Regions from separate parts of the Homo sapiens genome. Here region 1 is linked to region 2. Evidence: promoter capture Hi-C in 16 types of primary human blood cells and fetal thymus (Javierre and others, 2016). All regions are on one chromosome and are shown on one strand. The core of a region is centred on a gene start or on the middle of the fragment in contact, and the rest is flanking DNA. Distances in the headings are between cores, read along the strand shown.

Region 1 (2,991 bases), core at 410-2,909, 120 kb before region 2:
AGGGTGGGGTGGGGGCTTGCTGAGATGACAGCCATGCTCATCCCCATCATGCCCCCTCCTGACATTCAATCTCTGCCTCTGAATCGCTCCAGTTCAAGGTGGGTCTTGGAACGCTCCAGCCAGCAGCTCCCAGGTCAATAATGTGAAGGCTCAGGTGGGGACTGCCTCTTCCCCAGGACCAACCTCCCACCCTCCAGCTGCCACCGTGCCTAAGCAACCCCCAGAAGAATTGTCCACTGTCTTCTGAAGGAACTGAGGATCACAACCTGGAACTCAGTCACAGATGCATTTGCAGCCAGCCCATCCCTCAGGTCCAGCGAATATATAGATATAAAGGAAGTTCGGGAACAGGTCATTCTGGAGGCACACTACACAGGAAAAAGACCGAGACATTTTACCGTTGAAAATGTACTGATTTGGCTGGGCACGGTGGCTCACGGCTGTAATCCCAGCACTTTGGGAGGCTGAGGTGGGCGGATCATGAGGTCAGGAGTTTGAGACCAGCCTAGCCAACATGGTGAAACCCCATCTCTACTAAAAATGCAAAAAATTAGCCGGGCGTGGTGGGGGCGCCTGTAATCCCAGCTACTCCGGAGGCTGAGGCAGGAGAATGGCATGAACCCGGGAGGCAGACCTTGCAGTGAGCCGAGATTGTACCACTGCTCTCCAGCCTGGGCGACAGAGCAAGACTCTGTCTTGGGGGAAAAAAAAAGTATTGATTCTATGTATGAACAAACAAAAAGGGGTAAATAAATTCAATGTCAACAAAACGAAAAAATTAATTTCCCTCTGCATATTAATATCCTTAATATATAAAGACAGCTTTGAAATCAATAAGAAAATAACCACACGAGCAAAAAAATGGGTTATAGGCAAGCCACAAGAGAAGAAACACAAATGGCATGAACACACAAGAAATAGTCAACCTCAGGAGACATCAGTAAAATGCAGATTAAAATAGCCTGTCAAATTGGAAAAGAATTTAAAATCATACTGCAGTGTTGGCAAGAATGTGGAGGAAACATGTATGCCAATACACTGGCTAGGGGGAAAAAGCTAGTAAACTCACCAGTATCTATCAAAATTTCAACATGCATGCCCTCTGACCCTGGAGTCAAGTCTACAGAATATTCATGTTATATACACAAAAACATAGGTTCAAAGATATTCAGTACTGACAAAGGTGTAAAGAAGTGGACACATTTATTGCTAATGGGAATGCAAATTAGTTATCATATTTATAAAGAGAATTTTAGCAATATGCACCAGAAACATCTTAAAGTTTTGCATATCCTTTGACCCAGAAATTCTTACAGAAATTCACCTGTAGGAATATGCCTAAAGATTTAGCTGCAAGGATACTCATGCAAACATTGTTGTATTTTTTATTTTTTTGAGACAGAGTCTCATTCTTTGCCTAGGCTGGAGTGCAGTGGCATAATCTTGGCTTACTGCAGTCTCAACATCCTGGGCTCAAGTGATCCTCCCACCTCAGCCTCCTGAGTAGCTGGGACTGCAGGTGCATGCCATGGTGCCCAGCTAATTTATTTATTTATTTTTGTATTTTTAGTAGAAATGGGGTTTCACCATGTTGGCCAGGCTGGTCTCTAACTCCTGGGCTCAAGAGATCCACCCGCCTCGACCTCCCAAAGTGCTGGGATTACAGGTGTGAGCCACTGCACCCGACCAGATGTTTTTTTTAACGGGGAAGCTGTAGGGAGGAACAATCTAAGTGTGCAAAACACGAGACTGGGTAAATAGAAGGCACAGGCATAGAATGGAATTCGACAAAGCTCCTCCAAAATATGCTGTAGGACTTCTGATTCAAAGACGGTAGATTGAAAGCATGTCTTTATCTCCTTTCCCTTCTCAGATTCCACTAAAATGACGGTTTACAGGAAAGAGGCAATTAGCAACAAATTATAGGGAGACCACAAATGGATGGGAGTGGTAACTGAGGCAGCAGGACAGGACACTCACAGAGAAGGATGTGCATAAGAAGAATGTGATCTGCTTGGTGAAGTCCAGAGAGTGAGAGAAGCAGCAAGGAAGCCAGGGGAGTGCAGGGTGGGGACTGAGATGAGGCTAGAGATGGGACTAACTGAAAGTCAGAAGGCAGGAGACTAAGACCTGCAGAGACTCTCCCTCCCTCCACCTGCCTGCACTTTGCAGATGTGCGAGTGGAGGTTCCTGCTCGGGATTAACTGACTGGCAACTAGGTCACCCCAAGTACCAGCCCGTTCCCTGGGGATCGCCCACCGGATAACCACTAAGTCAGAGGGGTCAGAGGTATAGATCCCGCAGAATGAAGGGCCACTGGGTGCTGCAGATCCCTAAGCGGGGAAGAGGCTGGGATTCAGCAGCTGGGGCAGAATCAGACACTAATTAGCCAGGGGAGGGCACCCTGTGAGCCACAGGGCTGGGTGCTGGGTGCTGTTCCTTCTAGCTCTGACATTCCATGCCACTGAGTTCCAGGTGAAGCTGGCCTAGCAGCGCTGCCAGGGGCACACATACCCCAGGCCCACGCGGGCCATGTGGCTGGCCCTTCCACCCCCAGCCTCCCTTTCCCTTGAGCTCTGCCCCAAAGAGTTAGGAATGAGGAGTTTGTAAAATATGTGTCACTGGCCATTCTTGCCCTGAAAAATCAGGAAATATTCTTTTTTTCTTTTTGAGATGGAGTCTTACTCTGTCGCCCAGGCTACAGTACGGTGGTGTGATCTTGGCTCACTGCAACCTCTGCCTTCTGGGTTCAAACGATTCCCCTGCCTCAGCCTCCTGAGTAGCTGAGATTACAGGTATGTGCCACCACACCTGGGTACTTTTTGTATTTTTAGTAGAGACAGGGTTTCGCCATGTTGGCCAGGCTGGTCTCAAACTGCTGACCTCAGGTGATCCGCCCACCTCGGCCTCCCAAAGTGCTGGTATTACAGGCGTGTGCCACCGCGCCCAGCGGGGAAACATTCTAAACCAGCCATGACAGCCTTGCAAACA
Region 2 (3,119 bases), core at 179-2,678:
CTAACAGGCCGGTAGAAGACACACGGAGGAACCAGAAAGCGTTTTCTTGTAACCTAAGGATGGCAGGCGCACATGCTCCAGTCCAGTGCTGGCCAGAGGCTGCCTGCCAGGTGCTCTCGGCCTCCGCTGGTGAAGGAGTGGTTTGGTTGGTTTTTAATATCTGTTTCTTAAGACCACCGGCAGTAACTTCCCAGTCTCCCAAACTGAAGTTGGGGAGTGAAGGAACAGGTTTACCCCCTTACACATTTCTCCCATCTGGGTGGCCACACTAACTTCTGGGGAGTACCCAGCCCCCACAGAGCCCGCAGGCGCGTATACATACACATATGTATCATGTCAAAAACCCCAAAAGGCAGAGTCCTGCGGTTTCTTAGCTGGAGAATGAAGCCTTTATAACATCACAACCTCAAATGCAAGCCCACCATCACTACCTTTAAGCCAGGGTTGCCAATTATAGCGCCCACCTCATCCCTCCCCCTTTGCTGGGATGCTGTGCAGCCCGGAGAGGGAAGAAGGGAAGAAGGGAGAAGGCCTGCTTGCATAGTGAAAGTAAAGGGGGGGGAGACTTCTCCTTCTGTCTCCCCACTCTTCCCTCCCCACTTCGCCCCACCCCCGTCTTCTCGAGGAGCATCCCCAAACTAATTTTTTAAAAATGAAACTTAATAAGCTTCTTGCCTACCTTGGCTGTTTCTGCAACAAGTGCATGGGCAATCCGACGAGAAGACCAGTATCCGCTTGGGGGGTGAGATGGGGGGCGAGCAGAGCTGATGGAGTAATTTCAATATTAATTTATGTCAGCCGCCTTCTCTCAGCGCTACTCACTTACTGTACTGCCCTCAGCCTGTAAACAAATATCGCTCCGCCAGGAAACATACTCCCCAGATGCAAGCCCCTCTCCCCAGCAGGGAACCTGGCCCCTCGTCCCCCCGACAAGAGTGTGCTCCCCCACCCAGGGTAGGAAGCTTTGGGTTTCCAAAGCACCAACCCACCACCTCCTCCACCACCCCAGCAAGAAACTTACTCGGTCCGTCTACGCCTCCACCCTCCCTTCAGGAAATCTACTCTCCATATGCATTCAGCCTCCCCGCAGGAAATCTGCTCCCCCCTCCCCCCTTCTATATACATGCACCCCTCCCTCTCCTCCTCCCCATGCGCCCTCCCCGGCCAGAAACTTACTAGTGAGCAAGCGTGCAGGCTCTCCTGATGCTGGAAACTTACTCCCAGATATAGCGCCCGCCAGCCCCCTTTCCCAGCCCTGCTCCCCTTCCTGCCCTCCGCCGCAAGCAACTCCAAACTCTCCGCATCCAGCCGTTCTCCCTCCCCAGTGGAAATTTGCAGCGCCGGGCTGCGCGCGTGCATCCACCCTCCCCTTCAGGAAACTTACTCCCCATCTGCATGCACCGCCTCTCAGCCATCGCTTAGAGGGAAGGGGGTGTGCTGGGGAGACAGAAATACATATGTATCTCTCGCCCCTCCCCCGGTCGCAGCCCACTCGGGGCCGAGCCGCGGTAACCTGGCCTTACCTTTGCATTGCTCCCCATCCTCGCCCCCTCCCTTAACCCTCCTTATCCGCTCCCCGGTACCCCCCTTTTTTCACCCATTACCCACCCCTAGCAACCGTTCCCAAGCTCCTCTCGGCCTTTTTTTTTTTTTTAAATCCAGGATGCAAATTCCTCCCTTGTCAGCAAATCGACTGTCAAATTATTTTCTTGCAAAAGGAGAAAGGCGGGGTGGGGGGGGGGAGCAGGAGCAAAAAGAGGGGGAGGGCGGGGGAAGGGAGGGGGAAGGGAGGGAGAGGGACCGAGGAGGGGAGATATCCCTCCGCAGAGCTGGGTCTGGCCGCGGGCGGGGAAGCAGGAAGTAAGGTGTCCAGCGCCGCGACCGGCTGGTCGTCCGCCTCGGCCCCCGCCCGCGTCCCCTTTCCCCCGGGGCGCAGCGCTACGGCGGGCGCGGGCCGCCCGGCGCATTGTTCGCAGCCTTCGCGGCGGTGCGCTGCTGACTTTATTTGTGCGCTTTGCGTGTGCGTGAGGTTGCACCTTTTGTAGGCTGGCGAGTCTCTGGACGAGGATGGGACGGGGGACACGGGCCCAGTTGCGGCCCTGCGCGAGCGGGACCTGTCAGCCCTGAGGTGCAGCGGACCCTCCGGCATGGCCGGAAAATCGAGGCCGGGGAGAAGGCAGCGTGGCCGGGAAGCTGCCGCCTTAAACCCGGACCAGTGCAGGATTGCTTCCTGCGTAGCCGTCCCGGTTATTGTAACACGCTTTGCAAGCTAACGACTGGGGTTTGTGAGGGGGTTTGTTTATTTTTCTAAGTGTTTGCAAAGATGCCGAGGTCGAGGCGGGCTGCGAGGAGACGGTCCGCGCCTACCCCCACCGCACCCTGGCCTCGGTGGGGCTGGGAGAGGGCTGGGGCTCCGGAGAAGGGGCTGGAGGTTCGCGAAGCGCGCGTCTCCATCCCTCCGCCCCGATGGGGGCGGGGAAGGGGTGCAGTAGACCGCGCTGGAAGAGCAGCTCTCTGGGGAGGGGTCTCCCTTGCCGCGGCAGGCGCAGCAGGCCGGGGAGGGGGGTTGCCTAGGAGAGGGGCCGGGCGGCGGAGGGGAGGGGAGGAGAGGGGGCGCGGGTGCAGCCGCCGCGCGCGCTCGCCCCTCCTCGCGCGCCATGACTGTGGAACGTGGTGCCGGGGAGGAGGGACGGCCACCGGGGGCCGCCCGGGGCTGCTCGGCATTGGTGCGGAAACCCGAGCCCGGAGTCGCTCCCTCGCGCTGTCTCCTCCTCCTCCTCTGCGGGGGAAACCGCTGCACCCAAACCGGGAGCAGCTGCGAGCAGGGGGCAGGGCGCGGGCTGAAAGGCGAGCCGAAGGTTCAAACCTCCGCGGCGCGGGCGGGGGCGGAGGGCAACAGCAGGACGGCCCCCAGGTCCCGAGAAGGCGTGGCAGTGGTCGGCCCAGGTGTCAGGGAACCTGGCCTGAGACCCCTGCATTTCCAAGCTTCTTTCCTGGTCAGAGGAAACGTGAACCAAAGGTAGTTCAGCTAAACAGACCACCTCGAGCCGGGTTCGAGGCATCTGTCTCGAGGGCAAGACAGTATTTTTTGCACGACAGAAAGTTACACCATCCATTTT

Evidence for each region. The method cuts DNA at HindIII sites, captures the fragments that hold promoters and counts their contacts. A CHiCAGO score of 5 or more calls a contact.
Region 1: a fragment that was not itself captured here is called in contact with the fragment with the promoter of TRERF1 in region 2 in 1 of 17 cell types (M0 macrophages); the score reaches 5.5 in M0 macrophages.

What each region holds. Positions count from the first base shown.
Region 1 is chr6:42,329,291-42,332,281 of GRCh38, forward strand. The region is part of intron 3 of TRERF1 (transcriptional regulating factor 1); the gene reads right to left. Among named protein-coding and RNA genes, the nearest start is that of MRPS10, 110 kb to the left of the region's middle. The HindIII fragment of the contact is 6,589 bases long and covers 1-2,991 here.
Region 2 is chr6:42,450,498-42,453,616 of GRCh38, forward strand. It overlaps TRERF1 (transcriptional regulating factor 1), which reads right to left and starts at 1,429. Exons shown (of 18, transcript NM_001395490.1): 1 at 1,177-1,429; 2 at 680-764. It overlaps LOC124900214 (arf-GAP with GTPase, ANK repeat and PH domain-containing protein 2-like), which reads left to right and starts at 1,863. Exons shown (of 4, transcript XM_047419627.1): 1 at 1,863-3,119. The coding sequence starts at 2,324. It overlaps LOC107986596 (a long non-coding RNA gene), which reads left to right and starts at 1,863. Exons shown (of 5, transcript NR_171668.1): 1 at 1,863-2,128. RefSeq lists silencers at 1,894-1,973, 2,444-2,883. The HindIII fragment of the contact is 2,023 bases long and covers 961-2,983 here.